Regions from separate parts of the Homo sapiens genome. Here region 1 is linked to region 2. The links are contacts of gene promoters, found by promoter capture Hi-C in blood cells and fetal thymus (Javierre and others, 2016). All regions are on one chromosome and are shown on one strand. The core of a region is centred on a gene start or on the middle of the fragment in contact, and the rest is flanking DNA. Distances in the headings are between cores, read along the strand shown.

Region 1 (5,957 bases), core at 539-3,038, 230 kb after region 2:
ATTTAAGCTTCCATTATGTGCAAGGTATTCTTAAGGATGCAAAAAAATACAAGACAGGTCCCTGAACCCAATGAATTTACCATCTAGCAAGGGAGATAAGTCATATACAAAATTATGATACTAAGGTATATTCCTGAGCCATACAGTATCTCAGGGGTAAAGGGGAACATAGCTCAAATATCTGGAGGAGCTCCAAATTGAAAACTTCTGTTTTCTTTTCCCCCATCAACTTGGACCAAGAGTCACAAATACATTCTTCCTCCATCTAGCAATATCCTTTAACCTACTTTGTGCCAGACAACATTCTGGTCATGAGAAAAAAGCAATGAACAAAACAGACAAAAATCCTGCCTTCGAAGGGCATATGGTCTGGAAGTGTAAAGGGTCAGGTAGGTACATATATGAGTGACTGGTGTGTGCATGTATGTGTGCGTGCGTGCATGTGATACAGCAGACTAGAAAGCATATGCTTTGGCTTAAATGGAAAGCTACCACCCAGTTCCAGCTAATTGCTGCTAGGCAGAAATTTGGGCCCAGTGTTCCCAGATCTGGAAGCTGGACATTTTACGGATTTTATGTAAGAGATCTCAGCTTTTAACAATCTACGACTAATTAAAAGTGTTTAAAACACTGCAGGCCAAGCAAAACACTTTATAGATGGAATTCAGGCTAAAGATACCAGTCTATAATCTGTCTTAGAACATGTATCATGATTTTTGGCTTAGAGATGCAGTCACTTCATATAGTGTTATAAACCAAGTGCTACTGGGCTGCAGGCAGAAGATCCAGCCTCTCAGCCAGTATTAAGGAGGTGAGAGCATTTAGCCTGAGCTCCTTCAGAAAACATCTCAGAATATGTCAGTGCTTAATTTTCTTTTTCTTTTTTTTTTTTTTTTTTTTTGAGACGGAGTCTTGCTCTTCCCCCCAGGCAGTGGCGCTATCTCTGCTCACTGCAAGCTCCGCCTCCCGGATTCACGCCATTCTCCTGCCTCAGCCTCCCGAGTAGCTGGGACTACCGGCACCCGCCACTGCGCCCGGCTAATTTTTTGTATTTTTAGTAGAGACGGGGTTTCACCGTGTTAGCCAAGATGGTCTCAATCTCCTGACCTCGTGATCCGCCCGCCTCGGCCTCCCAAAGTGCTGGGATTACAGGCGTGAGCCACTGCGCCCGGCTGTCAGTGCTTAATTTTCTATTCTTTGTTCACTTCTCACAGCACTTACTGGCCACATCCATGAGTTGCCACATGCTGAGGTATTTCTTTGCTAAGAATGGCAAGACCATTTTGTTCAACCAGGAAGTCCATGAACAGCAACTCAACCAATGCATCTGCCTTGATGGTTTGATTATTCAACAGATTAATACTGTTCATGAATATGATTAATTCTGATCTACTCTATAATAGGCTTGCTATTTAGAAATATAGTAAACTTCTGTCACCTGAAATTCTCAAGTGAGGGACTTTATGTAAATTATCCTGGACAAAAAAATTTCCTATAGTTAAATCACGTTTGTGCAGAAGTCACTGAAATACAGTACTGATGGCTGAAAAGCAAGCTACAAATTAAATATATAAATTACTACACAAATAGTCACAATACAAACAAATGTTTTAATAAAAATAGAAACAAAGCATACTACACGAAGGAAGAATTTCACTAAATACTAGTGCATACCAAATGAGAAAAGGAACAATTAACCCTAATAAAAGCTGGTCTTTCACTACATATGTTTGTAACAGAACTACACAGCATGTTAACAAACTGAAAAAAAAAAGACAAGACAGCAAAAATAAACTCTATAGGTTTAAATCTTCAACTTCAGACCCCAGAAAAGCATCTTTAAAGTCAGATAAGTCCAGGCATGGCGGCTCATGCCTATAACCCCAGCACTTTGGGAGGCTGAGGTGGGAGAATTGCTTGAGGCTAGGAGTTTGAGACCAGCCTGGGAAACACAGCGAGACCCCATCGCTACAAACAAATTTTTTAAAAATTAAAAAATTTTTTAATTTGTTTAAAATTAATAAATTTACTTATTAAATAAATTTATATTTACGGGCATGGTGGCATGTGCCTGTAGTCCCAGCTACTCAGGAGGCTGAGGTGGGAGGATCACTTGAGCCCAGGAGGTCAAGGCTGCAGTGAGCAATGATTGTACCACTGCACTCCAGCCTGGGTGACAGAGTGACAGAGACCCTGTCTCAAAAAAAAAAAAAAAAAAAGTCAGATAAGTAATTCTCAATGCCAGGAAAATTTATCATCCCTGCTGGTCTCCAGTTCATTGTATTAATCAATGGCAATCATTGCATTAGAAACTTGGTCACCCTGTCTTCAAAATATGGTGCTGTTGCCTTTTAACTGGGTTAGTTTACAGTGTATATAAACTTAATGATCAATCAGTGCCTCTACTGTATTTGAGCCATGACTTACTGTAGCAAAGTTAAAATCTAAAATGTAATGGAATAGCTCAAATATACCTCTGATCAGCTGTGTGGCCTATGGTTTCTTTTGGTTACCAAAATCTGGGATGTGAAACTTGCATCCCTTATACAGTGTTTTGTGTTCCCATTCTTTCTCATTAGAAGAGTCGCCTAAGGGCAGATTATCTTGCTATTAGTTTTGCTTTGGCCCAGAGTCTTTCATCTGCAAAACAGGTGTGTTGGTCACAAGGTAGTATCTGAATAAAAATTTTCAGGGGGAGAAATATATCTTACATACCAACAAGTTTAAAAAATCCAAAGGCATTTATAAGGATGGTCATTTCAGCACATTTTTTAAGTAAATAAAATACTGTAACTGCTTATCAACTGGTCAGGTTGGTTAAATTACAGTAGTATACTCGGACACTACTATAAAGATAATGAGAAAAGCTGAGCTTCATGAGCGCCCCCAGAACGTTATTCACCTAAAGGTTATCACCAGATGATGGCATCTGGCGTGGGGTTTTTTGTTTGTTTGTTTTAGCATTTCTTGATTTATAACGAACATGTACCATTTTAACAAAAGCAATAATCTTTCCTTTAAAAAAGAAAATACTGGCCGGGCGCGGTGGCTCACGCCTGTAATCCCAGCACTTTGGGAGGCCGAGGCGGGCGGATCACGAGGTCAGGAGATCGAGACCATCCCGGCTAAAACGGTGAAACCCCGTCTCTACTAAAAATACAAAAAATTAGCCGGGCGTAGTGGCGGGCGCCTGTAGTCCCAGCTACTTGGGAGGCTGAGGCAGGAGAATGGCGTGAACCCGGGAGGCGGAGCTTGCAGTGAGCTGAGATCCCGCCACTGCACTCCAGCCTGGGCGACAGAGCGAGACTCCGTCTCAAAAAAAAAAAAAAAAAAGAAAAGAAAATACAATTGACCTATATATGCAAATACGGAACTACACTCATGGTTTATTTTATCTCACAGGATTTTGGTGCACATTAATCATATGGTAGTATTCAAATATTACCTGATTTATGCTAAGTGAAAAATAACAAGGTATAAAACAGGGCAAACAGGGCAAGGGTCTGTGATGGGCAAGATGTTTTTTATTGACTACTATTGTGCCCAGGTTCTAGAAAACAGTCTGGAGCAAAGCTTACCTGTTTATCATGTGTTGCAATCTCAGAGCAGAGAGTGGGGAAAGACTGGTAGGAAAGAATAGGAGGGAAAGGAAACCAAGGCTATATGCATCAACAAACCCGCTACGGCTTAGCATGAAAACACAGACAACTGCTCATTTAGAAGGTTACAGGATGGGTTGTATGGAACTACTAATATTGTATGTGTGTGTGCGTGTGTGTGTGTATGTGTGTGTGTGTGTGTGTGTAAGGGGTAAATGGAGGAGAAAGGCAGGCAGACACGAAGCAATTTGTCTGCTGGCTCCTTCCCTTCTCCAGCTTCCAACTGCTCTGGTCAGTGATGTCAACTGCCCTCACTCCCTACTTCCAGGCTGTGTTTACCCAGCCACTCTGGACAGTCACTGGGGAAGAACACACCCCACGTTTGAACTTGAAAGTGGTAGGAGAGGCCAGGGTCTGGCCAAATGGGGCTTAGGCACATGAGTTGCTGTAGTTCTCTCCACAATGGACTTAACAGAGACCAAACCAGAGCCCCACCCTCACAGAGGGAAGATGAGACAGCCAGCACTGTTAGAAAACGTGGCAAAAGCAGCAACATCTGAAGACTCACCACTGAGCAAGCAGACTGCCTGAGGTGCAGACAGAACCAAGGGCATCTCGATAGACACACTGAGTCTCACACAACGCATACCCTTGTATACAGAATAGAACTTTAACTATCATGTATTTAAAAAACATACATTAGGAAAAACCTATACTTAGTCTATACTCAGTAGTCTAATGAAAAGGGCAGGGACTTGCAGCCAGACAGTTCTGAGATTGAAAATCCTATCCATCTGCTCCTTGTTGTGAAACGCCAAGTAGGTTGCTGATCTGTATAATCAGGATATTACATGGTTATAGTGAAGATTAAATGAGCTAAGGTGGCTAAAAGAGATGTTAGGCTCTGGCAGACATAGTGCTGCCTCTTACATAAGAGGGGCTGATTCTTTTCCTTCCCTCATTCAATCCCTCTTCCGTGTTCCTCCAGGACAACCTCACGTTATACTGCTAACATCACTCTGCCCAACATTGTTTATATTTATGATCACTCACTACACTGGCAGCTCCATGAGGATGGGATTATTTCTTTGGTGTCCACCTTTGCTGTCTAGTACAGTTCATGCTTATAGCTGGGGCTAAGCACACATTTGCTGAATGAACCAAGAACGTCAAACACCAATTCTCAGGGGAGACAGCTTTTCATAAGACCATTAGTAAAGTCACTTGAAGGACCCATGAGACTTCTAAACATAGTCTGACAGCTGTACCGGCCAGAAAGGTAGAAAAAAAATAAATAAAAGGTTTTGAAGCTAGACACATTTACATTCCAATCCCAGTTCCATCTCTTATTACAAGGGTAATATTTGGGCAAGTGACATAGACCCTCTAAAACCTTCATTCCCATAAACATAAAATCAAAATCATACTATATTTTGTAGGGCTAGTTTAAGAAATGAGATTAAATAATATAAACTATTACTCGTATGGTGTTAATCCATGTCACAAGGCACTCTTATCCTGACCAAGGTAGGGGGAGCAGAAGAGAGATTACTGCTATGAGTAAAAGGTATCTGCTTTTTTTCCTTTTCTTTTAATTCTATGCATTTTTACTGAATGTCTGCTGTGTGCCAGGCTTTGTACAAAATACCATCCTCTATAAGTTTACAAAGTGCTTTCACCTTAGCCTCTCTCTGAGCTCTCACCCTCCTGACTCTGCTTTAAGCCTGCCAAGGATACCCACTAGAAATGCTGAGAGATGAAGAGTTTCCATGACCTCTGGAACAGATGTGAATCGTAGCTCCAACGACAAAGGCAGTAAATAGGAAAGACATCCAAGTCTTGTTGATGACATAGTAAAGAGTAAGTGTGCCAAATACATTTGACCAGCCCCTAGAGGTTCCACATCTAAGGTTGGTATTATTCCCTAGGCCCACTCTACTTCTCTAAAAAAACTTATCTTTCAGGAAAAACCCTTTAAAAGAATTTAAGAATTCCTGATTTATCAGCTACTTGCAGAAAAACTGCTGAGCAAGGAAAGGGACAAAAAGCCAGTTAAAATAGAGAGGCATGGTATGTATAACCTGAATAAACCCCAGCAATCTAAGTGGCTGTCCTGGGTAGAAAGTCCAACAATCAAAAGTGAAAAAACAGTAATTCCAGTCTTTACATGCTTTCCTCAATGGATACGAGAAGAAATCAAAATCGTAACACACTTTTTATCTCTTAATCAATTCTCTCATATAATATAGTTGCTCAAGGGTCTCTCATTCACCAACCTACCCCACTCCCAACCTTCAAAACCAGTTTCAAATTTGCATTCTCCCCTTTCCCCTTTATCTTAAAAATTCTTTATTAAGA
Region 2 (6,268 bases), core at 3,247-5,746:
GATTGCTTGAGCACAGGAGTTCAAAAACAGCCTGGGCAACACAGCAAAAACCCATCTCTACTAAAAATACAAAAAATTAGCAGGGTATGGTAGCACACACCTTAAGTCCCAGCTACTTGGCAGGTTGAGGTAGGAGGATTGCTTGAGCCTGAAAGGTGGAGGTTGCAGTGAGATGAGATCATGCTACTGCACTACAGCCTGAGAGGCAGAGTGAGACCCTGTTTCAAAAAAAAAAAAAAATCAACTACTCAACTGGCTGCAGAATAGATGTTACATCAGCAGGCATGAAAACAACATTAAGGTTGGGCACAGGGGCTCATGTCTGTAATCCCAGAACTTTGGGAGGCAAAGGTAGGAGGATTGCTTGAGCCTAGGAATTCCAGGCCGGCCTGAGCAACACAGTGACCCCATCTCTCCAAAAATACATTTAAAAAAAAAGCCGGGCATGGTGCTCACGCCTGTAATCCCAACACTTTGGGAGGCCAAAGAGAGCAGATCACTTGAGGCCAGGAGTTCAAGACCAGCCTGGCCAATGTGGCAAAACCCCATCTCTACTAAAAATATAAAAATTAGCAGGGCATGATGGTGTGCACCTGTAATCCCAGCTACTTGGGTGGCTGAAGCAGGAGAATCACTCGAACCCGGGAAGCTGAGGTTGCAGTGAGCTGAGATTGTGCCACTACACTCCAGCATGGGAGACAGAGTGAAACTCCGTCTCAAACATAAATAAATAAGAAAAAAAAAAAAGAAAAATAATGGGTGGGTGCAGTGGCTCATGTCTGTAATCCTAGCACTTTGGGAGGCCAAGACAGGTGGATCGCTTGAGGTCAGGAATTTGAGACGAGCCTGGGCAACATGGTGAAACCCCATCTCTGCAAAAAATACAAAAAGTTAGCTGGGTGTAGTGGTGTGCACCTGTAGTTCAAGCTACTTGGGGAGCTGAGATGGGAGGATTGTTTGAGCCCAGGAAGTAGAGGCAGCAGTGAGCTGAGATCATACCAGTGCACTCCAGCCTGACAAAGTGAAACACTGTCTCAAAAAAGAAAAGAAAAAGGAAAAATATTGACCAGTGAGGTGGCTCAGGCCTGTAATCCCAGCACTTTGGAAGGGCTCACTTGAGCCCAGGAGTTCGAGATCAGCCTGGGCAACACAGTGACACCTCGTCTCTACCAAAAAGAAAAAAAAAAAACAAACCAAAACAAAACACACACATATAGATAGATAGACAGACAGATAATAGAGAGAGAAAGGAAAAAAAATTAGCTGGGCATGGTGGCATCTGTCTTTGTCCCAGCTATTCGGGAGGCTGAGGGAGGAAGGCTGCTCAAGCGCAGGAGATTAAGGCTGCAGTGAGCCATGATGGTGCCGCTGTACTTCACCCTGGGAGATAGAGCGAGACCCTGCCTCTAGAAAAAAAAAATGTTTCTGAGCAGTAGGTCTCAACAGTGGGCTTATTCAGTAAACCATGCTGTAAATAGATGTGCTGTCATCCAGGGCTTTGTTGTTCCATTTATAGATCACAGGCAGAGTAGATTTAGCATAAGTCTTAAGGGCCATTGGATTTTTAGAATAGTAAGTGAGAAATGGCTCAACTAGATGTCATAGATGGCATCTTCCAATGTAAGTCTGTTTCTTCTACCTTGAAAACCTATTGTTTAGTGTAGCCACCTTCATCAGTGAGCTTAGCTAGATCTTCTAGAAAACTTACTGCAGCTTCTACATCAGCACTTGCTGCTTCACCTTGTACTTTATTATGGAGATGGCTTCTTTTCTTCCTTTTTTTTTTTTTGAGACAGAGTTTCACTCTTGTTGCCCAGGCTGGAGTGCAATAGCGCGATCTCAGCTCACTGCAACCTCCACCTCCCGGGTTCAAGTGATTCTCCTGCCTCAGCCTCCCAAGTACCTGGGATCACAGGCATGCTCCACCACGCCCAGCTAATTTTGTATTTTTAGTAGAGACGAGATTTCTCCATGTTGGTCCTCAGGTGATCCGCCCGTCTTGGCCTACCGAAGTGCTGGGATCACAGGCATGAGCCACCGCGTCCGGCCGATGGCTTCTTTTCTTAAAAGAACCTCTGCTAGCTTCCAAATTTTCTTCTGCAACTTCCTCACCTCTCTTAGGCTTCAAAGAATTGAAGACTTAGGGCCTTGCTCTGGATAAGGTTTTGGCTTAAGGGAATGTTATGGCTGGTTTGATCTATCCAGACCACTAAAACATTCTCCATATCATCAAGGTTGTTTCACTTTCTTATCACTTGTGTATTCACTGGAGTAGCACTTTTAGTTTCCTTCAAGAACTTTTCCTCTGCACTCACAACTTGGCTGTTTGGCACAATGGGCCTAGCTTTCAGCCCGTCTTGGCTTTCAGGATGCCTTCCTCATCAAGCTCAATCATTTCTAGCTTTTGATTTAAAGTCAGAGATATGTGACTCTTCCTCTCACTTGAACACTTAGATGCCACTGTAGGGCTATTAATTGGCCTAACTTTATTATTGTATCTCAGTCAACAGCAAGGCCTGAGGAGAGGGAGAGAGATGATGGAACAGCTGGTTGATAGAGCAGTCAGAACACACAGCATTTATTAAGTTCACCATAGTGTTGCCCCAAAGCAATCAGAATAGTAGTATCAAAGATCACTGATTACAGATCATAACAAATATAATAGCAATGAAAAAGTGTGAAATATTTCAAGATTTACCAAAATGTAACACAGACACAAAATGAGCACATGATGTTAGAAAAATGGCATTGATAGAGTTGCTCAATGGAGAGTTACCGCAGCCTTCAATTTGTAAAAAAAATGAAAATGCAGTATCTGTGAAGTGCAATAAAGCAAAGTACAAAAAATGAGGTATTCCTGTACATGTGCTGCCAAAGTGAGCGCTATATACATTCTTAACCTGGACCAAGAGCAGTATTCAAAATAACAACTCTGGCCAGGCACGGTGGCTCATGCCTGTAATCCCAACATTATGGGAGGCCGAGGCAGGTGGATCACTTGAGGTCAGGAGATTTGAGATCAGCCCTCCGCCATCATGGTGAAACCCCATCTCTACTAAAAATACAAAAATTAGCCTGGCGCGGTGGTGCAAGCCTGTAATCCCAGCTACTCCGGAGGCTGAGGCAGGAGAATCGTTTGAACCCGGGAGGCAGAGGTTGCAGTAAGCTGAGATCGTGCCACTGTACTCCAGCCTGGGTGACAGAGTGGGACGAGACTGTCTCAAAAAAAAAAAAAATAACAAACAAAAAAAACAACTCTGAGGATACATTTCTAGCCTGAGGCAACTAAAGCAAGAAATAATCTTATGCACAGACCTACAGTTAATCATTTTACTGAATCTACATATACATTCCACTTACATGATTACATATACGCATCAGTATGGACTTACATTCTATACATATGACTCTCCCATATTCAACAAGAGATCACCAAGAGCCTGAATCAAAGGATACCAATAAAACAAACCCTAAACTAGGAAGTGGGAGGGAAAGGAGAAAAGGGATGAGGGAGAAAAAGAAAAAAGAGGAAGGATGAAGGGAAGGCGGAAGCCAATATTAATAAATACTGAGTACCTACTGTATACACACCACCATTTCATGGTTGCTTCTTGGTTTCCACGCTTTCAGTCTTGGCCCTACATCCATTTTTTACACAGCAGTCTAACTGTGGTCTTCGAAACCCTGTGTTATCTGTCCCCAGTGCACCCCATGCTGTGCCACTCCTCTCCCTCAATGCTCTGCAGCCACAAGGGGCACTTTCTGTTCCTAGAATGCTCTGACTTCTTTCCTGCCACAGGGCCTTTGAACTTACTCTTTCCTATGCCTGAACTGCTTTCCACATCACTTATTCTTTTTCATTTTTTGAATTTCAACTCAAACATCACCTTCTAAAGGAATAGCGCACAGCCACTTAGTAACCCTCTATTTCCTTTATCACAATCTGAAAAGTTCCTGTTTGTCTAGCTCCACCCACCAACTTCGAGGGCAAGGACCAGCAATGTCTTGCTCACCACCGCATCTCCCGGGAGTTAGAACGGTACCTGGCACCTCAGGCATCTGATAATACTGGCTGAATGGCTGTTGGAGGCAGAGGTTCTTAACTGCCTATTAAGGATGAGGACCCTGAGGTTCAGAAACGTTAAAGTGATTTGTTCCAAATCAGACAGCGCCAGGTCTGAACCTAGCCAGCTGGGGCTAAGTCAAGTAACAACTGGCGAAACAGAAAGCTTAGCAAAGGCAGGATAGCGACAAACACGACCTAAAGTTTTCTCTTCATACCCAGGGATATCCACACCTTTCTCTCCCGCCCTGACCGACCGCGGGGCCTCCCCGCCCAGCCCCTGGCCGTGCGAGTCCCTTACTATGTGGGGATGAGAAGGCATTTGAGAAGAGTCACCCCGAGCGCCAAAGCCGAAAACCAATTGCCAGTACCCGTGGCAATTGTGAGCGCCGCCATTGCTGCGGCACCGCACGCTTCCCACCAACTTGATCCACATCCGGGATCCCGCGCATGCGGAGAAAGCCCTCTGAAGCCGTGCCCGCTAGCTGCGCGCATGCGGCGAGCGGCGCAGCCAGTCCGGGGACTGCAGTCAGCTATTTAAACCTCCCGCCCACCTTTTCTTTAGACCCGCGTCTCACCCCGGGCCGGAAGGGCTCCTGCGCAGGCGTTTGTAGCCACTTTTAAGTTTTATCAGCTAGTTCATGCTTGCGTTGAAAGAGTGGTCGTTTGCGCTGGGTCATCACTGTGTAGTATTGGGGATACTTAGGTGAGAAAAAAACTTAACGCTAGAGACGTTCACGCACTAGTGGAGAAGCCAGGATTGTTGCCCTAGAGTTACAGTAGATAAAAGTACCTCAGAGAACTGCGGGGGCTCCCAACCTGGACGCTTGCACCGGAGTATTAAATCCAGCTAGAGAATGGCATGTGCAAAGATACAGAGGTGAGAAACATTGTGTTTTTAGAACTCTGAGCGAGGCTCTTGGCTCACCTCCTGCTTGAGCGGAACCCATTCTGGAAGCAGGGTAGAGGCTAGTCCTAACGCTTAGTGTACAAATAGCCTACGGTTCATGTTAAAATAATTCGGATTCTGATTCAGTAGGCCCAACAAACTCGCAGATTGCGTAATGACTGAGGCACATGCAATTTAATTAGGCTTGTCTCATTATTTTACTGTATGATCTTGGACAAACTAAACTCTAAACCTCAGTTTCTTTTTTTAAAATTTTTATTTATTTATTTATTTTTGAAAATAGGAGATAAAAATGGTTTCTGGCCGGACGCGGTGGCTCACGCCTGTAATCCCAACACTGGGAGGCCGAGGTGGGCGAATCACCTGAGTTCAGGAGTTTGAGATCAGCCTGGCCAATATGGTGAAACCCTGTCTCTACTAAAAATTAAAAAAAAATTAGCCGTGCATGGTGGCGGGCGCTTGTAATTCCACCTACTCGGGAGGCTGAAGCTAGAGAATCGCGTGAACGTGGGAGGCGGAGGTTGCAGTGAGCTGAGATCGCGCCATTGCACTTCAGCCTGGGCAAGCCTCAGGCCTGTTTATCCAAGATGCTTTTGGTCTAAAAAAAAAAAAGTTTCAGCCTCATAAACTGGTTGTGAGGATTAAATGAGAATGCATGTAAATTGCTTGATATGATTCCAGGACAGAATAAATGCTCAATAATGTGTCAGATCAGTTAATTATCTTGCTGAAAGATGCACAGCAAGTAGGTGACAGTGTCACCTCCCTAATATGAGTTTATGCCCTCCCACAGCTTCAGCTGCCACCCATGTGAATATGATTCACAGATTTCTAGCTCAGCACTCTTCTCTCACTTTCAGACCCTGGTCTCCAGTTGGCTACCTGACCTCACGTAGATGTTTTTGTTTTGTTTTTGAGAGACAGGGTCTCATTCTGTGGCCCAGGCTGGAGGGCAATAGTGCAAACACAGCTCACTGCAGCCTCGATCTCCTGGGCTCAAGCAGTCCTCCCCACCTCAGCCTCCTGAGTAACTGGGACCACAGGGATGTGGCAACGTGTGTGTGTGTGTGTGTAGAGATGGGATCTCCCTATATTGTCCATGCTGGTTTCAAACTCCTGGGCTCAAGTGATCTTCCTGCCTCAGCCTCCCAAAGTATTGGGATTACAGTTGTGCGCCACCATGCCCAGCTACTTAGATGTTTTAAAGGCACTTTGCATTAATTTTCTATTTCTGCTGTAAGAAATTACCATAAACTTAGTAGCTTAAAACAACACAAATTTATTCTCTTACAGTT

Evidence for each region. The method cuts DNA at HindIII sites, captures the fragments that hold promoters and counts their contacts. A CHiCAGO score of 5 or more calls a contact.
Region 1: a fragment that was not itself captured here is called in contact with the fragment with the promoter of ALG8 in region 2 in 3 of 17 cell types (neutrophils, total CD4 T cells and activated CD4 T cells); the score reaches 5.8 in neutrophils.

What each region holds. Positions count from the first base shown.
Region 1 is chr11:78,366,942-78,372,898 of GRCh38, forward strand. The region is part of intron 1 of GAB2 (GRB2 associated binding protein 2); the gene reads right to left. Among named protein-coding and RNA genes, the nearest start is that of GAB2, 48 kb to the right of the region's middle. RefSeq lists an enhancer at 3,237-4,187. The HindIII fragment of the contact is 3,566 bases long and covers 6-3,571 here.
Region 2 is chr11:78,135,130-78,141,397 of GRCh38, forward strand. ALG8 (ALG8 alpha-1,3-glucosyltransferase) reads right to left here and starts at 4,497. Exons shown (of 13, transcript NM_024079.5): 1 at 4,365-4,497. The coding sequence starts at 4,459. It overlaps KCTD21-AS1 (KCTD21 antisense RNA 1), which reads left to right and starts at 4,664. Exons shown (of 3, transcript NR_102281.1): 1 at 4,664-4,943. RefSeq lists enhancers at 4,080-4,189, 4,270-4,349, 4,960-5,069, 5,230-5,940. The HindIII fragment of the contact is 5,506 bases long and covers 4,228-6,268 here.